Regions from separate parts of the Homo sapiens genome. Here regions 1 and 3 are each linked to region 2. The links are contacts of gene promoters, found by promoter capture Hi-C in human tissues and cell types (Jung and others, 2019). All regions are on one chromosome and are shown on one strand. Each heading gives the region's core, a stretch centred on a gene start or on the middle of the fragment in contact. The rest is flanking DNA. Distances are from core to core; before and after follow the strand shown. Region 1 holds the start of CDK18 (cyclin dependent kinase 18). Region 2 holds the start of RBBP5 (RB binding protein 5, histone lysine methyltransferase complex subunit). Region 3 has its middle 8.2 kb from the start of NFASC.

The links. The method cuts DNA at HindIII sites, captures the fragments that hold promoters and counts their contacts. A contact is called where the count stands out against the background at its distance.
Region 1: the fragment with the promoter of CDK18 here is called in contact with the fragment with the promoter of RBBP5 in region 2 in 1 of the 25 tissues and cell types used here (hippocampus).
Region 3: a fragment that was not itself captured here is called in contact with the fragment with the promoter of RBBP5 in region 2 in 2 of the 25 tissues and cell types used here (hippocampus and neural progenitor cells).

What each region holds. Positions count from the first base shown.
Region 1 is chr1:205,503,138-205,506,985 of GRCh38, forward strand. It overlaps CDK18 (cyclin dependent kinase 18), which reads left to right and starts at 1,532. Exons shown (of 16, transcript NM_212502.3): 1 at 1,532-1,659. RefSeq lists an enhancer at 3,456-3,848. The HindIII fragment of the contact is 16,948 bases long and covers 1-3,848 here.
Region 2 is chr1:205,119,670-205,123,424 of GRCh38, forward strand. It overlaps RBBP5 (RB binding protein 5, histone lysine methyltransferase complex subunit), which reads right to left and starts at 2,309. Exons shown (of 14, transcript NM_005057.4): 1 at 2,186-2,309. The coding sequence starts at 2,204. RefSeq lists enhancers at 369-927, 2,091-2,270, 2,411-2,630 and a silencer at 2,992-3,286. The HindIII fragment of the contact is 11,521 bases long and covers 1-3,755 here.
Region 3 is chr1:204,818,633-204,822,224 of GRCh38, forward strand. No RefSeq gene overlaps it. Among named protein-coding and RNA genes, the nearest start is that of NFASC, 8.2 kb to the right of the region's middle. The HindIII fragment of the contact is 4,246 bases long and covers 1-3,592 here.

The sequences.
Region 1 (3,848 bases), core at 282-2,781, 380 kb after region 2:
CACCCCCCTAGTTCCTTGAAATTCTACCCTTTGGCCCCACTCTCTCTAATCCGCCAGTAAACAGTTCCTTGGCCATAGTCCTTCTCCCTTTCCCTCCCTGCCCCTTCCAAACCTCTTTATGGCCTCCTGCTCCCCAGGCTTCTCACCATCCACTGGACTACAGAGCCAGGAGGTTGCTGCACACCTAAAGGCTCTGGATCCATGCACCCCGACAACACTTGGCAGTTTCATTTTTAGGAAGTGCTGTGCCCAGGAAATCTGCATGCCTTGGCAGAGAAAGCGAGGTAAAAAAAAAAAAAAGAGTTGGGAGGCCCTCTGTGAGATGTCAACTACCCACAGGTCACTTTCATGCATGGGCCCAGTGTCTTCCTTCATTCTCCTGTCTCCAGCTGACAGTGGGACCTCAGGCCCATGTCTTCCAGAAGGAAACTGTTCTATTCTCAACAACTCACAGTCCCCAGGGAAAGGGTTCAGGTAGAAGCACATGTACACTGTGGAGCACCCCCTCCTAAGGAGACTTTCCCTGTGGGAGACCCCAGACTGCAGCAGCCAAGCCCTCTGGTAGGGCAGGGGACACAGACTGCCTTGATGAGGTGCCATAGAGCCAAGGCACACCTCCTCTCCTCACAGCCCTCAGGAGGAAGCAGAGATGAGAGGGGCCTGGCGGTGGGGCACTGTGCCCTTCACCCCCATCCCCAGATTTTTGTTTTGTTTTTTTTTTTGATCCTTGAAGTCAGATGATGTGGGTGCAATGGCCATTGGCCTGAGTTCTAATCATGGCTCGCCATGAACTCTTGTGGCACTTTAGGCCAGTTCAATTGCTTTGCTGGGCCTCAGTTTCCCCTTCTGTAAAATGAGAGTGCCACTAGCTGAACTAGCCATTCTGTAACCCTTCTTGGATGATTCTCAAATATCCTGTGGAGTTTAATTCCAAAAGGACAAGTTGAATTATCCTTCGGGGAGGGAAATGTGAATGATGGCTGGTAACAAGGGCTTCATTCAGGTCCTGGAGAGGTGGGAACTTTGTCCGGAAAGGTAAGTGACAAGTCCCACTGGATAGGGTAGAAGGGGAGCCCGAGGGCTACTATTGTCAAGAAAATGACCACCAAAATCTGTCCATGCACATTCGTTCCTAGGGCGCCAGGTACAGGGAGGTACCTAGGAGAGGTAGGAGCACCGCTTTTAGAGACAGGCAGGCACTCTCAGTGTACCCCTGGCGCCTTGGTGTCCTGGGGTGATCCAGTCCAGAAGGCCTCATCCCCTAGCCAAGGCTCTCAGGGCCGGTTTTAGAAACGAAACAGGAAGAGGCACTTGGACCCTGGTTCCCAGAGTGGGAGAAAGGGGTGGGCACCCGGGCAGAGGGAGCCCTGGGGATTGGTAGCGGCTGTGGGCAGGGCGGGAGGGCCGGGGGCGGAGTCAACTTGTACATGTGAAAAACTCTGGCGGGGGCCGGGCATTTTCCTTCCTCCTCCTCCTCCTCCTCCTCCTCCCTCCTCTTCCCCACCTTCCTCCACTCCCTCCCTTCCCCTCCCCTTCTACCTCCTCCTCGGCCAGCTCAGGTTGCAGCTTCTCTGGGGAACTGCTCACCTTTCCGGAGCAGGGGAAGCTGCCCCGTGCCCGGGAGGGAGCGGGCGCACCGCGGCCCCCAGGACACGCGCTGTGAGTCCCGCGGGCGGTGCGCCTGGGAGGAAGGGGGAGGTCGGAGGAGCGGGCACCGCGGCGCCGGGTATAAGGAGCAAAGGTAAGCGGAACGGCTCTTAAAGGCGCAGTTTTGCTTTTGCCCTGAGGCGAGAGGTTGGAGGGAAATACCGGAGCGGCGAGGGGAGAGCAGAGATCACGAGGCGTGATCTGTGTGATACTGTGTTGTGTGTTGAGGGGTGGGGGGTGCCCTCGAAAGGCCACTCGTAAGTTCCAGGTGCTTGAGAGGGAGGGTTATTTTGCAATCTCAGACCCCGCGCCCCCTTAGGGAGTCTCCATCTGGGATCACTTTGGCCCCTGGGCTCCCGTCTGAACCCTACAAAGCAAAGTTTTCCACCCAGTCCGGAACCAGGCGCTTTCTAAGCTCCCTTCATTCTGGGAAGGGCAAGGGTCAGGAGTCTCCAGGGACCAAAGGACCCGAGAGTGTGGGGCCACATCGCTGCCTTGAAGGGCTTCCTGGGCTCTGGTGAACTTTCCAGAGCGGCAGGCAGGGGGTGGGAGGCCGGAGCCCTGGGAAGAACGTGGAAGGACACGTGAAGCCCTGCAGGTCCCAGTTCTGGGGGAGGCAGGGGTCTGGGGAATGCTGCTGCTTCTCTCTTTCCACCCCGGAAGACCAAAGGGGCAGTGCCCCCCTCCACCCCTCATCAACAGGCGACAGAGGGTTAATGCAGCAGAGGGAAAGGAGGCTGGGTGGGGCCGGGGGGAGTGGGCGGTGACCTGTTGGGCTAAGGAGATGTGCCTTGAGGATTCTGCTGTAGTTGAGGGACACCATCAGGAATCTGAAATCCAAAATCGGGTCTGGACTGGAGGCCTCTGTTTTCGCCCTGTGGGGGGCGGGGATTCCCTGAAGGTGTCTGCAGACCTTGTGCTGGGTGGGAGTTGGGCTGCAGAAACAGTGAGGGGTTTTCTGTGCTGCAGGGTCAGCACCCTCCTAGGCACCAGCCCTGCCTCTCTTCATTCTCTCTGGGCACCTCCCGGCAGTCGGGGTGGGAGGATTGACACTGTGGGAGTGAGAGGCCCTGGAACCTCTTCCGCGCTATCTGCTACTGTCTCCCCTTCTTCCCCACCCCTAGCCCAGCCCTCGGCAGTTCCCCAGCTGTAGCCTGGGCCCTGTGACTCACTAACACCACCGGCTTGCCCCTCCTGTGTCAGCACCCAGTGAGCTTCGGCATGTTCGCGTGGCATTCCCCACCCGGGCATGGGCATGCAGCACATTCCTGGACACGGGCCTGAGAGGATGCCTGGAGCGCCTGGTGGACTGGCACGTCCTCAGAGATCCCCTGCCTTTAGCCTGGCCTTGGGAGGGGCCTGGGAAAACGGTGCTGAGGGTGCTGAGGGTCGGTGGAGTACAGGGCGACACTGGCTCCAGGTCCGGGTTTGCATCCTGAAGGCGTTCCAGAGAGAGGGTCACCTTGCCACAGCAAAGCTGCTATCTCGGGTTACCCTTTCCCAGCCACCTCTTGTGCAGCTGAGGAGGCTGTGGGGCTGACCCCTCCCCCACCCTTAATCTGGGGTGTACCTGACCATTGGGTTCCCAGGACTCTCCCCACTGGGTCCCCAGGACTCTCCCCATACCCTGCCAGGAGAATGGAAGAAGCTCTCCACGCGTGCCAGAAGAAGTTCTTCCCAAACTTATCGGGGGTGCCAGAGGCAGAGTAGACAAGCCTTAGTGGCCACCATTTGTTGAATATCTACTGTGCGCCAAGCAGTGCGTCACAACTTTATGAAGTAGGTATTATTATCATCCCCATTTTACAGGTGAAGAAACTGAGTCTCTGAGAGACCAACTTTTCCAAGGTCACACAGAGGTGGGATCCAGCCCACTTCCGTCTGACCCCAAGCCCCTGCTGTTAACCCCTGCCCCATTGTGGGGAGGTTCCGGCCCACTCTGGAGTTCTCTGGTCTGCGTCAGTCCTCAGGAGAAGAAAGAATGGGGGTGATGCTCCAAATATTGAGGCTCCCATCTGTCTGTCCTGCACTAGGCAGAGCCAGGCTTCTCCATGGGGCACAGGAGAGAGGGCACCAGATCTGAGGAGCAAATAGGTTCTTGGTCTGAGATCTCGTGGGATCAGGTTGCCAGCCCTGCAAACCCCCGCTCAGGTCTAGAGGACATGGAGCTGCCTTTCAGGGTGCATTTGCTTCCTCTACAG
Region 2 (3,755 bases), core at 1,059-3,558:
GACTCAACTGCTCTGATTGGCTTCTATGAAGACGCCACACCAATCTGTACTCTCTTCTTCCTCTACATAGATTAATACATGGAAGGCACTTGAAAATCTGCCTAGCTCAGAGAAAGTACTTTATAACCGTTAGCTAACTTATTATCTCCACTTATTCCTCCTCTTAACCTCTAACTACAGATTGTGTGCTTGGCAATTTTCTTTTCTCCCCCTCCCACTTTTTCTCTAGATCATGTCCTCTATTCACAAGGTTTCAATGAGCCCATCTGAAAGAATACAAATCTCTCCCATAAATCCAAACCTGTCTCCTGACCCCTAGACCACATTCAGCTTCTCCAAAGCTGTCTTTTTCCAATGACCTTACACTTTATCAACAGCATCATTATTTGCTCTCACCATTTTTCACGTCACTCTCTTACTCATCAGCACTATATGCAATCTATTCTCAAATTTGTCATCCCTACCTCCTCAATGTCTTTTCTATTTCCTAGCTCAGGCCTTCCTCATCACTCATATAATCTACCCCTCCAAACTGGTTTTACACTCCTCCAAAACTCAACTCCACATTGCTGTCAGACAAACCTTACAAACTCATAGCTCTGATTGAGTTACTAAGTCAAAATCCTTCAATGGATCTACCCTACCTTCCCTAAAAAGCCCAAACTTTTGAGCTAGGCATTCGAGAACCAACACAAAATAGATGGCACCGATCCCATCCCCTGGCATTCTCTTTATCCACAACCTGGCCAAGCAGGAAAATTCTTTAGGTCTTCTCTCACTGATGCCTACTGAACATCCCTCCCATATTTTCATACTTCAGCCTGTTGATATTTTACCAACCTTAAAAATCCACTTAAGGCCGGACACTTTGGGAGGCTGAGGTGAGTGGATTGCTTGGGGCCAGGAGTTTGAGACCAGCCTGGCCAACACAGTGAAACCCCATCTCTGCTAAACATACAAAAATTAGCCAGGCATGGCAGTGCGCACCTGTAGTACCAGCTACTCAGGAGGCTGAGGCACGAGAATCACTCGAACCCAGGAGACAGAGGTTGCAGTGAGCCAAGACTGTGCCACTGCACTCCAGCCTAGGCGACGGCGCGAGGCTGTCTTAAAAAAAAAAAAAAAAGTCCACTTAAAACTCCAACTCCTCCACAGGTTTGGGGGGTTTGTTTTTCCTGGTTGACTTCTTCCTTTACCCCAAAGACATTCACTCTCTGTTCCAAACATTCTTAGCAACTGGTAATGACTCTTTCAGGCCTGCCTACATTCTGCAATATCCTACAGCTATTTTACATAATCACCTTAAACTCCCTGCTTAATGAAAAGCTCTTTAAGGGCAAAGACCATTTTTTATGTATCTTTGTAGCCCTTTTGACAATTAACATATCTTCTGACTTTTTTAAAAGAGAAACCTAACCATTAGGAACAGCAAGTAGTGCAGAAGTCCTTGAAAACCTCAGCTACCCCTAGAATACCATGCTAAATGTCACCTAATGGAAGTCCAGGAGAAAGGACCTACAGTTTTTAAATAATCTGGATAGGAGGTAAGGAGGCAATGACTCAAAGTGAGGGCGACAAAAGACAACTCCCTCCGTATTTCACACCTCAGTGTTTTACACACCGTCCCTAGCAAAGGACCTTAAACAGAAAGTTAGGATAATTGGATTCCAGTGCCAACTATGCCATTTACTTGCTTAGTGCCTAGCCATTACCCTCTGAGCCTTTATTCATCTGTTCAATGAGAAGCTTCTACCAGAAGATCTCCAAGTCCCCTCCTTAGACTTCTCTTTTCTACAAAAAGATTAACCTGTTCAGGCACCCAATTCCCTGACAAGTCTTCAAAGCTTCATCCCAAGCCTCACTTCTTCAAATTCCATCTCCAACAACTCTGGTCCTGGCTGCTCTGGGTACTTCAACACCTGCGATCCTCATAATCAAAGCTAAGTCACAAACTGTCTGTCCCCATCGCTCCATAATTGATATGAAAGTGGCCTCGGGAGGGGCAATGCAACCTACTCGGGCAGAAGGTGGGCTTCCTCCTCCCGCTGCTGCTCCACATCAGGTGTGCCCAGTGATCCATAGCCGAACAGTGTCCCTAAGATTGCAGCCTGACTCCCCTCCCGCCTGGGTTCCCTCCTTTCCAGTACCCAACGCTTCTCTAAAACGCAGCCACAGCCCTTCTCACCCAGCAACTCGAGGTTCATCCCTGCGGACTGTGGCCGCCCGGTCTCAGCTCCGGCAACAACACCTTCTCCCCGGCCGGCTTCAGCAACTTGCGTCTAAGTGGTGGACGCCGCGAAGAGACTGGCGCAAGCTCCGAAGACTTTCGGCCTTAGAAGGCCCCGCGGCTTCCGCTTTCTTCCCCCGCCTTCCTTGTTCGTTTCAGGTGGGCTGCCCAAATATATGCCTGACCAAAATCAAGCATACACTCTCTCGGAAACAATTAATTATGATCTTTGCTGAGGTACAACAATGTTATCGTCACTAGGGACTTTAAATAGCGCGACAATTTAAGATTATTTGCTCCGGGAACATGTAGGTGAGGTAGAAATTCCAGGCATACAGTTAACCTACTAGTTCTTGCCCTGTTGTGTGTTCAGCGGCGTTGTCCGGGCGGGCTACCTCAGACTCCGCAGGAAAGGTTCCGGACAAGTCCTGCTAATGCAAGAAACCAGGGAAGGTCGTCCCCTAGTGCTCGGGTGTGTAGCGCCGCTGACCTCACCAAGGCGCGTACTTACCCTGTATGTAGGTGGCGTTGCAGGGTGTTTCGGTCTCGTGAAAATTATTTCTCATTTGTAAAGATATGCTATTGATCCTACAGAAAGGTACGACAACATATGTTAGGCCTGTCTGTGTTAAGATAATAAAAACCTTATTATCTAAGGTTTTACCCTTTACCAAACAGTGTTGACAGGGACGCTGTGAAAAAGACTGTGAAAAAGAATTGGAATGAGGGGTGGACTGAGTTTCCCGGAGCTCAGTCATACAGAACTCCAATGAAATACCCAAAGCAATTAGAGAAGTCCAGTTACTGGTATCTAGCGAAAGAGCAAATTTTATATGAACAAATTCCTACTATAAATGCTGTGGCTCATCAGAAAAAGGAAACAACGTCAAAGGCTCGCTGCAGAAAATAGTACTCGGGCTAGGTCTCCGACAATGGAAAAATACACATACACAAGTTTATTAATCGCAGTATTGTCTGCAATTGCAAACTTTTGGAAACAATAATGAAACTTTTGAACTAGGGAGCCCAGCATTTTCATGTTGCCCAGGGCCCTGCAAATTATGTAGCTAGTCCAGTCTGCCTCTACTTGACAAATTTGCAGAAAAAGCAGCCTCATTCACACAGTGCACCCTGTCCCTGGGCCCCAGTTGATTGCTCTTTCAGTAAGCCCCTGACCTAAGCTCAACCCAATTAAATTCCTTTCCCAAGAATTTGGAATGGGAATTAAGTGGCCCCCACAGTCTGACACATCGATTGAAGAGAGTAAATGTGAATTAAGGAGCTATTTAAAGCGCCTAATAATAGATGGACACCATGGTAGTTGGCTGCAGGTTGCAGAATGAAGCAGAAGTCCAGAAACTAGTCAAAGATAATACTTGGTGTATCCAATTAGTTCCCAAGAACATATTACATTAATGTCTTCTATTTCCATTATCCTTGGACCTTTATAAAGTATGTCTTTTGCAGCCGGGTGCGGTGGCTCACGCCTGTAATCCCAGCACTTTGGGAGGCCGAGGCGGGCTGATCA
Region 3 (3,592 bases), core at 354-2,853, 300 kb before region 2:
ACTCCAGCCTGGGCAGCAGAGCAAGACTCCAGCTCAAAAAAAAAAAAAAAAAAAAGTACAGACTTGGAACCATACCACATAGGTTCAAATCCAGCTCTTCAGTTTGCTAGCTAGGAGACCTTGGGTAACATATTTAACCTGTCTTTAGCCTAGGTTTTCTCATCACATTGTAGTAATGATTCAATGTGCTTTATCTGTTATCAAGTTCTTAGAGACATGCATATGGTAATCACTACTTGCGTTAGCTATTATTATTTCAGTATACAAATACATAAAATTACCTTCTAGCTAGATTACAAAACTTTCCCCATTCTACCCATGTTCTCATTAAATCTGAGCCAAAATGATGATCCATGAAGATATTTCATGTTCTAGAACCCTTGTTATAGCACTGATACCCCATGTTGAAGTGCATGGAAATAGAGAAAAGTTGGCCCCAGAGCAATCCCAGCCAAAGGCCCTGTAGCAGGGTGTTTGATGCCAACCGGACCAATGCTAAAACCCTTTTGACTGGTGCCAAAGCCCAGCCCAACCTTGTGTGACTGCAGGTTTCTATCTTACTGCTCCTGAACGCAGGCCTATTTGTCAGCCTTGGTACTGTCTTTGCTCATGTTGAGTTCAATTTGGTGCATATTTACTGAAGAAGGGAATGTGAAAAGCAGGATAAAGGAAGTTGCCAAGCCAGGATGTGTCCATGTAAAGGCACATCATACTTTGGCCTGATTCACAGATACTCTGAGTGTAACTCCTCCGAAGAATAGTCATCCTTGAGGCAAGGGGAAGGGATTTTTGCCCCTTGTAAGTCATCACTGGCAACTGCAACCTCCACGCATCTCAGGGAGAGGCAGGTCCTGAAGTGGGATCAGGGCTTCAGGGAGGGACACAGGTGTGACCCCTTCCCCATTAGCTGCAGCACTCACAGCAGCTGGGGGATGGCAGCACCAGCTCTAAAGTGGATATGGCTGGGTCACTAGCAGTGTCTATGTCTGGTTTCCACTTTTTAAGAACGCATCATGCATCATGAGGTTGCCATGGAAGCTATGACACAGAAATTCTAAGCTGGAAGTGGCAATAACAACAGGGACACAGACATGTGACTGAGTGGCTCCAGGGCAATAATGTGCCGGAACAAGCTTATGCCAGCTCACAGGAGCTGATTGTTAAATTTTCAGGAACTTTGCAAGCCAGCTGTGAGAGACAGCCATCAGGAAACATTAAATTATATAAACTTACAATTAAATAATTACATTAAATGAAAAAGTAGAAATAACTCGAAACCCATCATTTTCTAATGATTTTCCTGTGTTTTACTATTATCTATGATCTTGAGGTTATTTACGTTCATAGTAGCTGTATGGTGGAAATGTAATATAATGGTCTCTCCTTCATCACATTGAGTGACATCATGTTGTCATCTTGAGATTGACCATGGCAGGGGAATTTACATCACAGAAATCAGAAAATGCTATACCTCAGGGGTTTTTTTCTTTCCAGTGAACCAGTTGTTAACTATTTACTAGCGCACCACTGATTCAGATGGACTCATTCTCCCCCTAATATGCACCAACGCACACAATAGCCGAATGCTTATCCATGGAGAGGTTCTTCCTGGGCAAGGATGGATGAGCAGCTTTTGTTTGCTCTTGGAGTTTTTTAAAGCTGAGTCTGAATAAGAAAAGGGGTTTCATTTCTCTCACTCCTACATCTTTGCAGGTAGGATTCACCTGGTCATAGCACTTGGTTCGTATGTAGCAGAGGGAACTTATGGCCCATGAAAATGTCTCAGGTACTTTTAATATTTTCCTTAAATGATGACTGTTCATCAATTTGTTTAAAATGCTCTCTTGTGTCTGAGAGGATATGGCACCACTTATTTCAGTCCCAGCTTCAATGAGGGGGTGAATGATGAGGACTTATTACAAGTCAGAAAGTCCCTAAGGAAATATAAGGAAAATATCATTTACTGCAGCTCCTAACACCTAAGAACTGAAGGAGTGAGTCCACTTGGGGCCCTGAGAAGGAACAAGATTTAATTATTAAGGCTATGTTATTTATAAAGCTTAATAGAGTAATTCTTTGTTGCTAATGAAGTCGTAGAGGACCCTTAAAAGGAAGCCTGCACAATTACATGTAAAACTGTGACAAATCTTGTATTTAGAAGCATACACCATCCCATCTGCCACTGTCAGATCCACTCTCCCAGGTCTACCCAGAGGAGGTGGGAGGCAGGAAGGCCACCCACCTCGGGCCTGGCCTCTCAGGTGTGCAGTTTGCAGACCTGAAATATAAAAGCTTATTTTAAACAGACAACTCCTCCAGCCCACTTCCCAGGGGTTCTGTGCTAATAAATTGGCATTAATAAGATAAACTAATTGGGGGTGGCCAGGCCCACAGGCTGGGTTCTCAGCTGCGACCTCCTGGCTCCATGCCCTACTCCTGCTGATCCTGCCAGCCAGCAGAAATTGTGTTGGGGGTGGAGGCAGGGGCAGGACAGGATAGAAACAGAGGAGTCTGGGGTCTGGGGTCTAGGGTCTAGAGACTGGAGCACAGTACCCCTGACTTGCTACAAAGTGAAGGCGAAGTCTCCTTTCCTTTTCCCCAGCTGGGTGGGTCTGGCCCAGTGCAGGAGACATCCTTAACCATTTGGACTTAACAGTTTCTTTAACAGAATAAAATAATAACCCACAGGAAGTGAAAAAGACCCTCAAGGTACAGGGACCACATTTTCCTGATAGAAAGCTGAGGTACTTCTGGTAGGTAATAGCTTAAAAAAAGAAAACTGAGACACTTTCTGTGACAAAAGATTTTCAGACATTTGCTATGTGCAAGAAGCAGTGTCAGAAAGACAATTTAGAGGCTGAAATGTTGCAATGGATAGGACATTTCCATGGTTTATTGAAAACAACAGAAAGACCATCATAAATCTTACCTTATCCAGAAAAATCAGTGGTTGCCATGATGGAGACCTTCTGTGGTTGCTACGTGAAGACAAATATTTTCTTTGGCTATATTTCAATAGCCAGCATGGTTATTTCTGTCTAATATGTTTATTTCTCCAGGAAATAATTCTAGCCAAGTAATGTCCATTTCAAGAAGGGAAACAGACACTAGTTTTTAGGCTGTGAGGACGTCAAACCTCTTTGTATTTCCCTTCTTCGGTCTGTTCATTCTCTCTATATTTGATGATACCTACGCATAGTCTGTTTACTTCATTTGACCCATATTTACTCATCGAGAGGCCATTCTTTACAATGTGTTTTCAGATGTTCTCATGCCTGTCTTAGACTATAAATGTCTGTGTAATTCTTTGATCAGCAGCTAGCACAGCAGCGGTCACAGTACTGCACACAGAGAGGTCCTTCATTCATACAGGCCCACTCTGAACAGTTGTGCAGGTCACGCACTGCATAACTTCAGCTGGGCCCATCATAATGTAGTCCAGTGCTGTTCAATAGAACTTTCTGCAATTATAGCAATGTTCTTTAATCTGTGTCATTTAATACAGTGGCCGCTAGGCACATGCAGCTCTTGTACACTTATAATGTGGTTAGTGTGACTGAAGAGCTGAATTTTTAATTTTAGTTAAATTTAA